Linked DNA regions of Homo sapiens: region 1 is linked to region 2. Evidence: promoter capture Hi-C in 16 types of primary human blood cells and fetal thymus (Javierre and others, 2016). All regions are on one chromosome and are shown on one strand. Each heading gives the region's core, a stretch centred on a gene start or on the middle of the fragment in contact. The rest is flanking DNA. Distances are from core to core; before and after follow the strand shown. Region 1 overlaps ATL2 (atlastin GTPase 2). Region 2 holds the start of CEBPZ (CCAAT enhancer binding protein zeta).

Region 1 (5,112 bases), core at 2,426-4,925, 1.1 Mb after region 2:
TTACAGGCACGCACCACCACGCCTAATTTTTGTATTTTTAGTAGAGACAGGTTTCACCATTTTGGCCAGGCTGGTCTTGAACTCCTGACCTCAATGATCCACCCACCACCTCGCCCTCCCAAAGTGCTGGGATTACAGGCATGAGCCACCATGCCTGGCCACATTTGGAGAGTTTAACAACTCTAAGTAATCAATATAATAAGAAAACAAAAAATTACTATTAAGAATATAGAATAGACAACCCTACCCACAAGAAAAATTAGCCACATATGTAATTTTAAGTTTTCTAAGTCACATTTAAAAAAAATCATTTAAATAATATTTTTATTTACTAACCCAAAATATTAGCATTTCAACCTACTCAGTATTTTTTACTTTTCTTTCTTTTTTCTTTTTTTTGAGACAGGGTTTCACTCTCATCGACCAGGCTGGAGTGCAATGGTGCGATCTCGGCTCAAGCAATTCTCCTCCCTCAGCCTCCCAAGTAGTTGGGACTACAAGCGTGAGCCAGCTAATTTTTTTTTAAATTTTTTGTAGAGATAGGGTTTCACCATGTTGCCCAGGCTGGTCTCGAACTCCTGGGCTCAAGTGATCCACCCACCTCACTCAGCCTCCCAAAGTGCTGGGATTACAGGCATGAGCCACCACGCCTGGCCCATTATTACTTTACATACAGTCTTCTAAATCTGCTGTGTATTTTACACCTACAGCACATTTCAACTTAGACACTAAATGCTTATCAGAAACACATAATCATTTAATTTCATAAAACTTACAACTGAAAAAGTAGACATGTATAAAAGTTGTTCCAACAAAGTTTTCCAGTATAACCAAATCAAATATTAATCATTTTCCACTCATATTTGTATCCATACTAACAAAACTGTTAATGTAAATAAAATTAAATAAAACTGAAAATTAAGTTCTTCAGTCACACCATTCAAACTGCTTTAATACTCATTTCTTTCACTAACAACCATTTCTATACATGTTTCCTCTTGTATGAACGGTCTATTCACAATCTAGATAGTTTTAAAGAAATGTTTAAATTACCACCCTAAAGTCCCTTTAATTCTACACTAAATCAGATGTTTAAACAGTATTTTACGACAGGTTTTTTAATTCAAAAAACTTTGTGTTTGCTGTAAACTGGAGTACCTTGTATACAGTACATAATTTAATGCTGGAAATCTAATTTAAAAGGTTTAGCCGGCTGGGTGCGGTGGCTCACATCTGTAATCCTAGCACTTTGGGAGGCCGAGGCAGGTGGATCATGAGGTCAGGAGATCGAGACCATCCTGGCCAACATGGTGAAACCCTGTCTCTACTAAAAATACAAAAATTAGCTGGGCATGGTGGTGGGTGCCTGTAATCCCAGCTACTTGAGAGGCTGAGGCAGGACAATTACTTGAACCCAGGAGGCAGAGGTTGCAGAGAGCCAAGATCACGCCACTGCACTCCAGCCTGGCAACAGAGGAAGACTCCGTCTCAAAAATAAATAAATAAAATAAAAAGTTTATAGTTACTATATATATGTTTGTTTAATATACTTATGATTTACTTCCTACAGAACCCTCAGTCAGAAATGTTTCCTATCACATTTGGGATTAAGGAAAAAAAAAAAAGAAGTAGCATGGTGAAACCTCATCTCTACTAAAAATACAAAAATTAGCTGGGCGTGGTGGCACACCTGTAGTCCCAGCTATTCAGGAGGCTGAGGCAGAAGAATCGCTTGAACCCGGGAGGCGGAGCTTGCAGTGAGCCAAGATCGCACCACTGCACTCCAGCCTGCGTGACAGAGCAAGACTCCGTCTCAAAAAAAAAAAAAAAAAAAAACCTCTAGAGATACTTTTTTATATTGGGGAGGAAAAGCATTTTCCAAGAACTACAAGGTTTTAGGCATTAATAGAACATACATATACACCCTAGAATATATATCAAGATACATGACAACATTCAAGTTCTAGTACATATGCTTAAAAATTAGCCTCAATACTTAAAATTAAAACTATTACATCACTCCCACAGGCTTTATAGATTATGCAGCCCAATTTACTCATTTTAAAAATAAGAAAAACATACAATTAAACCACTGTTTGGGGGGAAATCAAGGCCAGGTCTTATTTAGTGTTATTTCCTCCACAGCAGTGCTAGTCAAGCTTAACATGAATACACATCACCTGAGTATCTTGTTAAAATGCATATCCTGATTCAATAAAACTGGGATTGAGCTTGAAACTGCATTATTATCAATCCAAGATGATGCCAAAATTGCTGGTCCTCAGGATATATGGACTAACAAGGGTCACTCTATTTCACAAGTGTTTAGGATGTAAGTGTCATTCATTTAATTCTATTTCATGTAGTTTCTAACAATATTAAAATAAAATTTTCAAGGAAGAAAAAAAGTTTTCAAGCTAAACTGTAATGCTCTATTTTTCCTGGGAGACTGCTAATACTGTGATACAACTAACCACTCCAGGGTTGCTATCAAGGGTTTGATATACCAAAGTTCAAAAAAGTCGAGGTACATAAAACAATCTCTACTTAAAAAAGGAAAAAGCTATAGAAATTATTTTAAAATGGCTGGGCGCGGTGGCTCACACCTGTAATCCCAGCACTTTGGGAGGCCAAGGCGGGCGGATCACGAGGTCAGGAGATCGAGACCACAGGGAAACCCCGTCTCTATTAAAAATACAAAAAAAGTAAGCCGGACACGGTGGCAGGCGCCTGTAGTCCCAGATACTCAGGAGGCTGAGGCCGGAGAATGGCGTGGACCCAAGAGGCGGAGCTTGCAGTGAGCCGAGACCGTGCCACTGCACCCCAGCCTGGGCGACAGAGCGAGACTCCGTCTGAAAAAAAAAAAAAATTATTTTAAAACGTTAACATGATATACGGCTAGGATTGAAAACTATCAGCTAGTTTAGCTCTATTAAACTATTAGTCTAGCTCATCCAATCACCTGGGTGAGCTTTTATAACAGTGCTGGGTCTCCCCCACAAGACTATTGCAGCCTGGGATACAAGTATTACAAGTACTGACAAAGACACAAACTTGGACTTCGATAAATTTTTTTTGAAGGAAAAAAACAGCTACTAGTCAAACAGATACTACAAGAAAATATTTTAACTTATAATCTGGTCCTGTAAAACATTAAGAACTTATAAACTCATATTTCTCTCATATAAAATTAGAACTACAATGCAAATTACAAAAACAAAAATTTTAAAGACTCCAGGAAACGACTTATTAACAATTTCAGTTATCAAATATTTTCTCCCTTAGACTTGTCCCTTTCTAGCCAACAACAAAAGACCATCCTAAAATAGACTTTTAAAAATGCTTTAAAGAGGGCAGCTGCAGTGGCTCACGCCTGTAATCCTAGCACTTTGGGAGGCCGAGGTGGGTGGATCACCTGAGGTCAGGCGTTCCAGACCAGCCTGGCCAACATGGTGAAACCCTGTCTCCACTAAAAATACAAAAATTAGCCAGGCGTGGTGCCACACGCCTGTAATCCCAGCTATTTGGGAGGCTGAGGCAGAAGAATCACTTGAACCCCAGAGCCCGGGAGAGGGAGGTTGCAGTGAGACAAGATCCCGCCATTGCACTCCAGCCTCAGTGACAGAACCAGACTCCATCTCAAAAAAAAAAAAAAAAATGCTTTAAAGAGTATATAATACCATTCATCTCCTTCCTTCATTACTATTAAATCAGGAAACAAAGAGTTGTTTTTCCTATAGGATTCACATACTATTTTCCACTTGAAATGTACCCCGTTTCCATAGTAACTACCACTGATGTCACAGAATTTTTGCTGTTCCCACTTAAAGAACACTAAGGCAAAAAATACTTTTATGCATTTATTAAAATAGACGAAGAAAAATGTAAAATGGTTTATAAATGTATAAACTCAAAAGTATTTTTCCCCAAAGTTTGTCATCAAATATTACCCAGTTCTTAAAAGCATACACCTGAATATGTAAGTGTACTTAAAAAAAATACTAAAGTTGGCCGGGCGCGGTGGCTCACGCCTGTAATCCTAGCCCTTTGGGAGGCCGAGGCAGGTGGATCACTTGGGGTCAGGAGTTCAAAACCAGCCTGGCCAATATGGTGAAACCCCGTCTCTACTAAAAATACCAAAAAAATAGCTGGGCGTGGTGGCAGATGCCTGTAATCCCAGCTACTTGGGAGGCTGAGACACGAGAATCACTTGAACCTGGGAGGTAGAGGTTGCAGTGAGATGAGATCGTCGTCCACTGTACTCTAGCCTGGGCAGAGCAAGGCTCCATTTCAAAAAAAAAAAAAAAAAAAAAGAATACTAAAGTAAATTTAAATTTGGTATTTTAAATGACGTTAAAATTTAGGAAGTCAACTTTGTTAGCTAGTCAGGAGATTCTAGAATAAGCGATGGCTCAGGGGATTCTTTTTTTTTTTTTTAAGATTTTGGGTGTTTTGCTTATTTGTTTTGAGATGGGGTCTTGCTCTGATGCCCAGGCTGCAGTACAGTGGCACAATCACAGCTCACTGTGGCCTTGACCCCCAAGGCTCAAGACATCCTCCCATCTCAGCTTTCTGAGTAGCTGGGACCACAGGCATGCACTACCACAGTCAACTAATTTAGTTTTTGTAGAGACCAGGTCTCACTATGTTGCCCAGGCTGGTCTCAAACTCCTGGACTAAAGGGATCCTCCTGCCTCAGCCTCCCCAAAGTGCTGGGATTCCAGGAGTGGGCCACCACACCCAGCCTCGGGGAACTCTATAATCAACAAGACAGAAATTCAGACATTTTATTCAGGTTCTGCAAGTCTCTTCATTTTCTTCTACAGAGAAGTCTTGAAGAAAATCTCACCTCAAGTCAAGACCAAAAAAAAGGGTCTTAGACGGGCTCTTAGGTACTTTTTTGGGGGGAAATGAGGGAGAACATACTTTTGTTATGTGGACCAGATTTTTAAAGAATGAGAGTACACAATATTGAAACTTTCTTACTTTAATATTTTTTAGGTAAGTTGTTTATATCCTAGAGAAATTCCTGCATACATATACAAGAAGAACGAAACATGGTTCCTTGTTCACCAAAGTATTGTTGGTAACTACAAAAAAAAAAATTGGAAC
Region 2 (4,967 bases), core at 1,186-3,685:
TAAAACTCAGGGTCCACAAAGGAAAGGATAAGTAAATTTCTCTTTCTCTCTCTTTCTTTTACACACACACACACGCACACACACTTTTTATTTCGATATAGGAAAAAAATATAAATTATAAACTGGAAAAAAAATACAAGCAATTCCTATCAAAGTAATTGGGTTTAATCCCTTAATATAAGTTTCTACACATCAGTAAGTGACAACCCAAAAGAAAAATGTGCAAAGGACATGAACAGTTCATAGAAAAAAAGGGTTCTTTAAGAATATGAAAAGATGTTCAACCTCACTGAGGTTTAGACAAATCCACATTAAAACCACAATGATACATCCATCTTTTAATTTATCAGATGAGCAAAGATACACTGCAAGATGAGCAAGATACAATGACAGGTGATGCTGGGGAAGGGGTGGCGGAAACGGCACTTTCATACATGGTTGATGTGAGTGTAAACTGACACAACCTCCATGGAGGACAATTTGTCAACTCCAATCACAACTATTTAATACAAGGCACACATCTGTTGGCCCAGCAGCTTCATTTCTAAAAATTAACTAACTGATTGAGACATGGTCTCGCTCTGTTGTCCAGGCTTGAGTACAGTGGCATGACCATGGCTGAACTGCAGCCTCAACCTCCCAGGCTGAAGTGATCCTCCAACCTCAGCCTGTAGCTGGCACTACACGCCCAGCTATTTAAAAAAAAAATTTTTTTTTGAGATGAGGTCTCCTTATGTTGCCCAGGCTGGTCTCAAACTCCTGGACTCAAGGTATCCTCCCACCTCTGACTCCCAAAGTGCTGGGATTATGGGTGTGAGCCACTGTGCCTGGCTCATTTCTACAAATTTATACTACATATACACTTACAAAAGTGGGGGAAAAACACGATTAAGGTTATTAACTGTAGTATTATTTAAAATAGTGAAAGACTGGCAATAATTTAAATATTCACAATAAATGGCTGGTTAGATAAATTAAGACAGACAAAATGATTTATGCAGCCATAGCAATGACACAGAACGTTATGCACTGATATAGAAGGATTTCTAAGACAGAAAAGAAAGCAAAATGTAGAGATAGGTGTATATATATGGTACCATTTATGTAAAAAAGATACACCCGTATTTCATACACATAAATGAGTATGTATATGCTTGAAAAGGTATATAGTATCCCTGAAAGATATAAAATGCAGTTGTAAAAATAATTGCTTCCTATCAGGGCAATGGTTATGGCTGAGATAAAAGTGGAAACAATTTGACTTCACTATGTATCTTTTAAAGTTTGCACCACGTGTTTCATGTGTATATATTACCTATTCAAAACTTAAATATACACAAGCACAGAGCAAACTGTGAATCTGCCTATCTCTAACTAACTCCTCCACCTTGAAAGTCCAGTCTCCAAACAAAATAATATTAAAAACAAAGTTAATTTCTGTTCCTTATCTGCTTAAAATCTTCCAGTGGTTTTGCATCAAACTCAGAGCAAAAGCCTGCCCTCTGACCCCTCGGCCCTCCTTTCTTACTATTCTCCCCTTAACTCACTCTGCCTCTGCTACACTGGCATTTTGGCTGCTCATGGAATAGGTTAGGCACTCTTCTGCCTGTCTTTGCATTTGCTGTTCCAACTGACTGGAATGGCAGCTCACTCCTTCCTGTCCTTTAGGATTCTGCTCAAACATTTCCGTGATGTGTTTGTCGATCATCTCATTTAATACTAACGCGCTCCCACTCCTTATCGTCCTTCCTTGTTTTATTTTCTTTTATAGCACTACCCCGCGTCTGCTGTACTATGTGTTTAAAAGTTTGTTTACTGTTTCTCTCCCTTAATTAGGATGCTCCAAAAAAGAGGGCTTCTGGGGCATACAGTGACACGTGCATGTACTCTATGAGAACAGAAATGAAAATTCCAATACCACTGGTGTTCAAAACACTCATACCACAAGGTCAGGACCAAGAAAAGCCACTCTCCGACCTGATGGTGTGATGGTTATACCACGTCAATAAAATCAGAAGATCGCCTACATCCTAAGAATAGCCAGAGAATACAACGTTCAATTCGAAACTTTTCTTTTGTAAACAGCAGTGGAAACCGGCGTGGGAAGCGCACCGAACACATGCTTCAGAGGCTGGGATCTCGGTCCTGGACGCCCGCGCTCTACGCAGCGCGGAAGCGGCGGGGCAGTCAGCCTAGCCACCTTCGGAACTCTCCACGCCTGATCCCGTTCCCCGGAGCCCGCGGCCGTTACCTTGGTGCCTCCGAGCCGTAACACTTCCTCCAGGGAGAACCCATTCTCGGCTTCACTAGTATTATCCTCATCCTCCTCGTCCGGATCTTCTACTGCCTCCTCGGGGCGCCAAGGCCGCTTGGCATGGAACTCCAAAGGCTCCTTGACTGCGGCCATGGCGGGCAAAGCATACGCGCGTGAAACTCAGCCTATTTCCGCTCTGCCAGTGGCGTAATTCCTGTCGGGGCGTGTCTTCTCCCGGAAATGGTCTAAGCCCCAGCTCCTGGCGGAGCGAGCTAGCCTGCGAATTTCAGCATGAGTGTACTGCTGAGGTCAGGTTTGGGGCCGTTGTGTGCCGTGGCGCGCGCAGGTAAGCGTCAGTCCCCTCGAAGCCCGGTTGCCGTGGAAGCCGCGTGGGGCGCCTTCCTCAGCTCTTCAGTTGAGGGTACCGGGGGATCAAGGGCTCGGGGGCTCACTTCCACCTTGAAGGTACCCTGGGCTGGAAACGGGTCCGGTACAAACGCAATAGGGCTGCGTAGTCGTGGGCAAGTGGGTGCTGTCTCTGCGCCCCGTGGGCGTGCTAAGCACAGTAGCCCGCGGTCTGCGGTGGGGCGAGGTTAAGGGTTCACGAAGCTGTTTTGAAAACGCTCAGGCGGCTTGCGCTCGTGAATGGTCAGATTTATCATGGGGTCTGTTTAATTTGTGTTTTTCGCAGCCATTCCTTTTATTTGGAGAGGGAAATACTTCAGCTCCGGGAATGAGCCTGCAGAAAACCCGGTGACGCCGATGCTGCGGCATCTTATGTACAAAATAAAGTCTACTGGTCCCATCACTGTGGCCGAGTACATGAAGGAGGTGTTGACTAATCCAGCCAAGGTATGGGTCGGGTAGCCCGAGGACTAGGCCCTCTCTAGCCGATTTGCGAGGTGCAAGCCAGGAGGGAGAAGCCCGAAGGTTCTCAGCCCAGGCAGTGGGGGTGCCTGCCAGGGGAAGAGCCATTTCTGAGGACCTGGGGACAGATAATTTGTCAGTTGGTCAGGGCTGGCTCACGTCAGAGGCAGTGCCAGTAAAGAGGAGAGGACACGGTCCAAGGGTGTTTAGGAGACAGAATGTAGCTGATTGGATTTATGATGCGGGAAGGATGACTTTCCTACTTGGCTGATGGTGGGTGGTGTGGATTCATTGCTTTGGGAGAAGGAATACGGGAGGAAGGATGGAGAGTTCAGGCTGGTATATGAATTTGAAGTGTGTGGGACTCTTAGGTAGAAATCTCCAACAGGCAGCTGGAAATAGGAATTACTGCCTGGAAAGTCGTCTGTGTTGGAATGGCTTCAGCTGGCATTGGAGACATGTGCTGGGTTTTCTCACATGTGCAGTTGAGAATGCAGTCTGGGTCGTCTTCACTGTTCTAGGATTAGGCACAGTCACAGCTTTCTGACCCACGTTTCCTTGTCTGTTCTACAGAGCCATTTGGTGAAAGCCTATAGTCCTTTATTTTAGAATATTTCATCTTTTGCTGGGTTGAAATATGACCTCTGTGGAATTCTGGGGTTAGATTGGCCATTGTTGTTGGATATGGTAGTGTGACTCTAGTGTCGAGGTTTACCCAAGGCCGGTATCTTTCTTTCGATGCCGGTTAGGCAGGGCTGCAAGATAGGTGGCTTAGACTAGTGTGGTGGTACTAGAAATAGAAGAGGGTGATTTAGAAAGGGACTGACAGGATTTGCCGATGGATTGAGTGATGGAACGGAGGAATCAAGGCTGATTCGTACTTTTAGCTTGAGCAGTTGGGTGATGATGGTACCTTTTATTGAGATTAAGACAGACAGGACCAGGTTTGGAGGAGTACTAGGGAGAGGGCCTACACCAGGAGCTGCATTTTATACATATTTTGTTAGCAGTGACATGCAGGTGGAGATAGAAAGTAGGCAATTCGCTGTAAGAGTCTGGCGTTCAGGGCCGGACGTGGCGGCTCACGCCTGTAATCCCAGCACTTTGGGAGGCCAAGGCGGGTGGATCACGAGGTCAGGAGTTTGAGACCAGCCTGACCAACTTGGTGAAACCCCGTCTCTATTAAAAATACAAAAATTAGCCGGGCGTGGTGGCTTGTGCCTGTAATCCCAGCTAGTCAGGAGGCAGGAGAATCGCTTGAACCCGGGACGCAGAGGTTGCAGTGAGCCTAGATTTCGCCATTGCACTCCAGCCTGGGCAACAGAGCGAGACTCTGTCTCAAAAAAAAAAAAAAAAAAAGTGAGCCTGGTGTTCAGAAGAAAGACTGGGCAGGCATATATACATTTGCTCGTCATCAGCATATAGGTCATATTTAAAGCCAAGGAACCAGGGAGAACATACTGAGAGAAAGGAAGGTTTCCCAGCATTGAGAGTAGGGGTAACTCTAAAATGTAGAGGCTCTTAACCTAGGGACCCTTTAATAGAAATCAGGGGTTTCATGAAGCTGGATGGAAAAAATATTATACCTTTATTTTCACTAACTTTCAACTGAAATTTAGCATTTCTTCAATTATGAACATACGCAGCAACTAGTAGCATCAGCAATACCTGTGACTTTGTCATCTGTGGAAATCATTGGTATTTCCTTATCACAATACAGTGATCACAGGCATCTCAGGATTTCATCGTGCTCATCCTTACTTCAAAATTTTGTTAATTATTGGGTCTTTGGCTTGATTATGGGCTTTTTTGTTTGTTGGCTTTTTGAGATAGAGTCTCATTCTGT

What was found. Contacts are between HindIII fragments. The CHiCAGO score rates a contact against its expected background, and 5 or more counts as called.
Region 1: a contact is called between a fragment that was not itself captured here and the fragment with the promoter of CEBPZ in region 2, in 1 of 17 cell types (monocytes). The highest score is 5.2, in monocytes.

The regions. Positions count from the first base shown.
Region 1 is chr2:38,355,837-38,360,948 of GRCh38, forward strand. All of the region lies in intron 1 of ATL2 (atlastin GTPase 2), which reads right to left. Among named protein-coding and RNA genes, the nearest start is that of ATL2, 19 kb to the right of the region's middle. The HindIII fragment of the contact is 3,037 bases long and covers 2,158-5,112 here.
Region 2 is chr2:37,229,161-37,234,127 of GRCh38, forward strand. It overlaps CEBPZ (CCAAT enhancer binding protein zeta), which reads right to left and starts at 2,436. Exons shown (of 16, transcript NM_005760.3): 1 at 2,252-2,436. The coding sequence starts at 2,407. NDUFAF7 (NADH:ubiquinone oxidoreductase complex assembly factor 7) reads left to right here and starts at 2,498. Exons shown (of 10, transcript NM_144736.5): 1 at 2,498-2,600; 2 at 2,946-3,106. The coding sequence starts at 2,546. RefSeq lists enhancers at 1,781-2,980, 1,938-2,387. The HindIII fragment of the contact is 13,102 bases long and covers 1-4,967 here.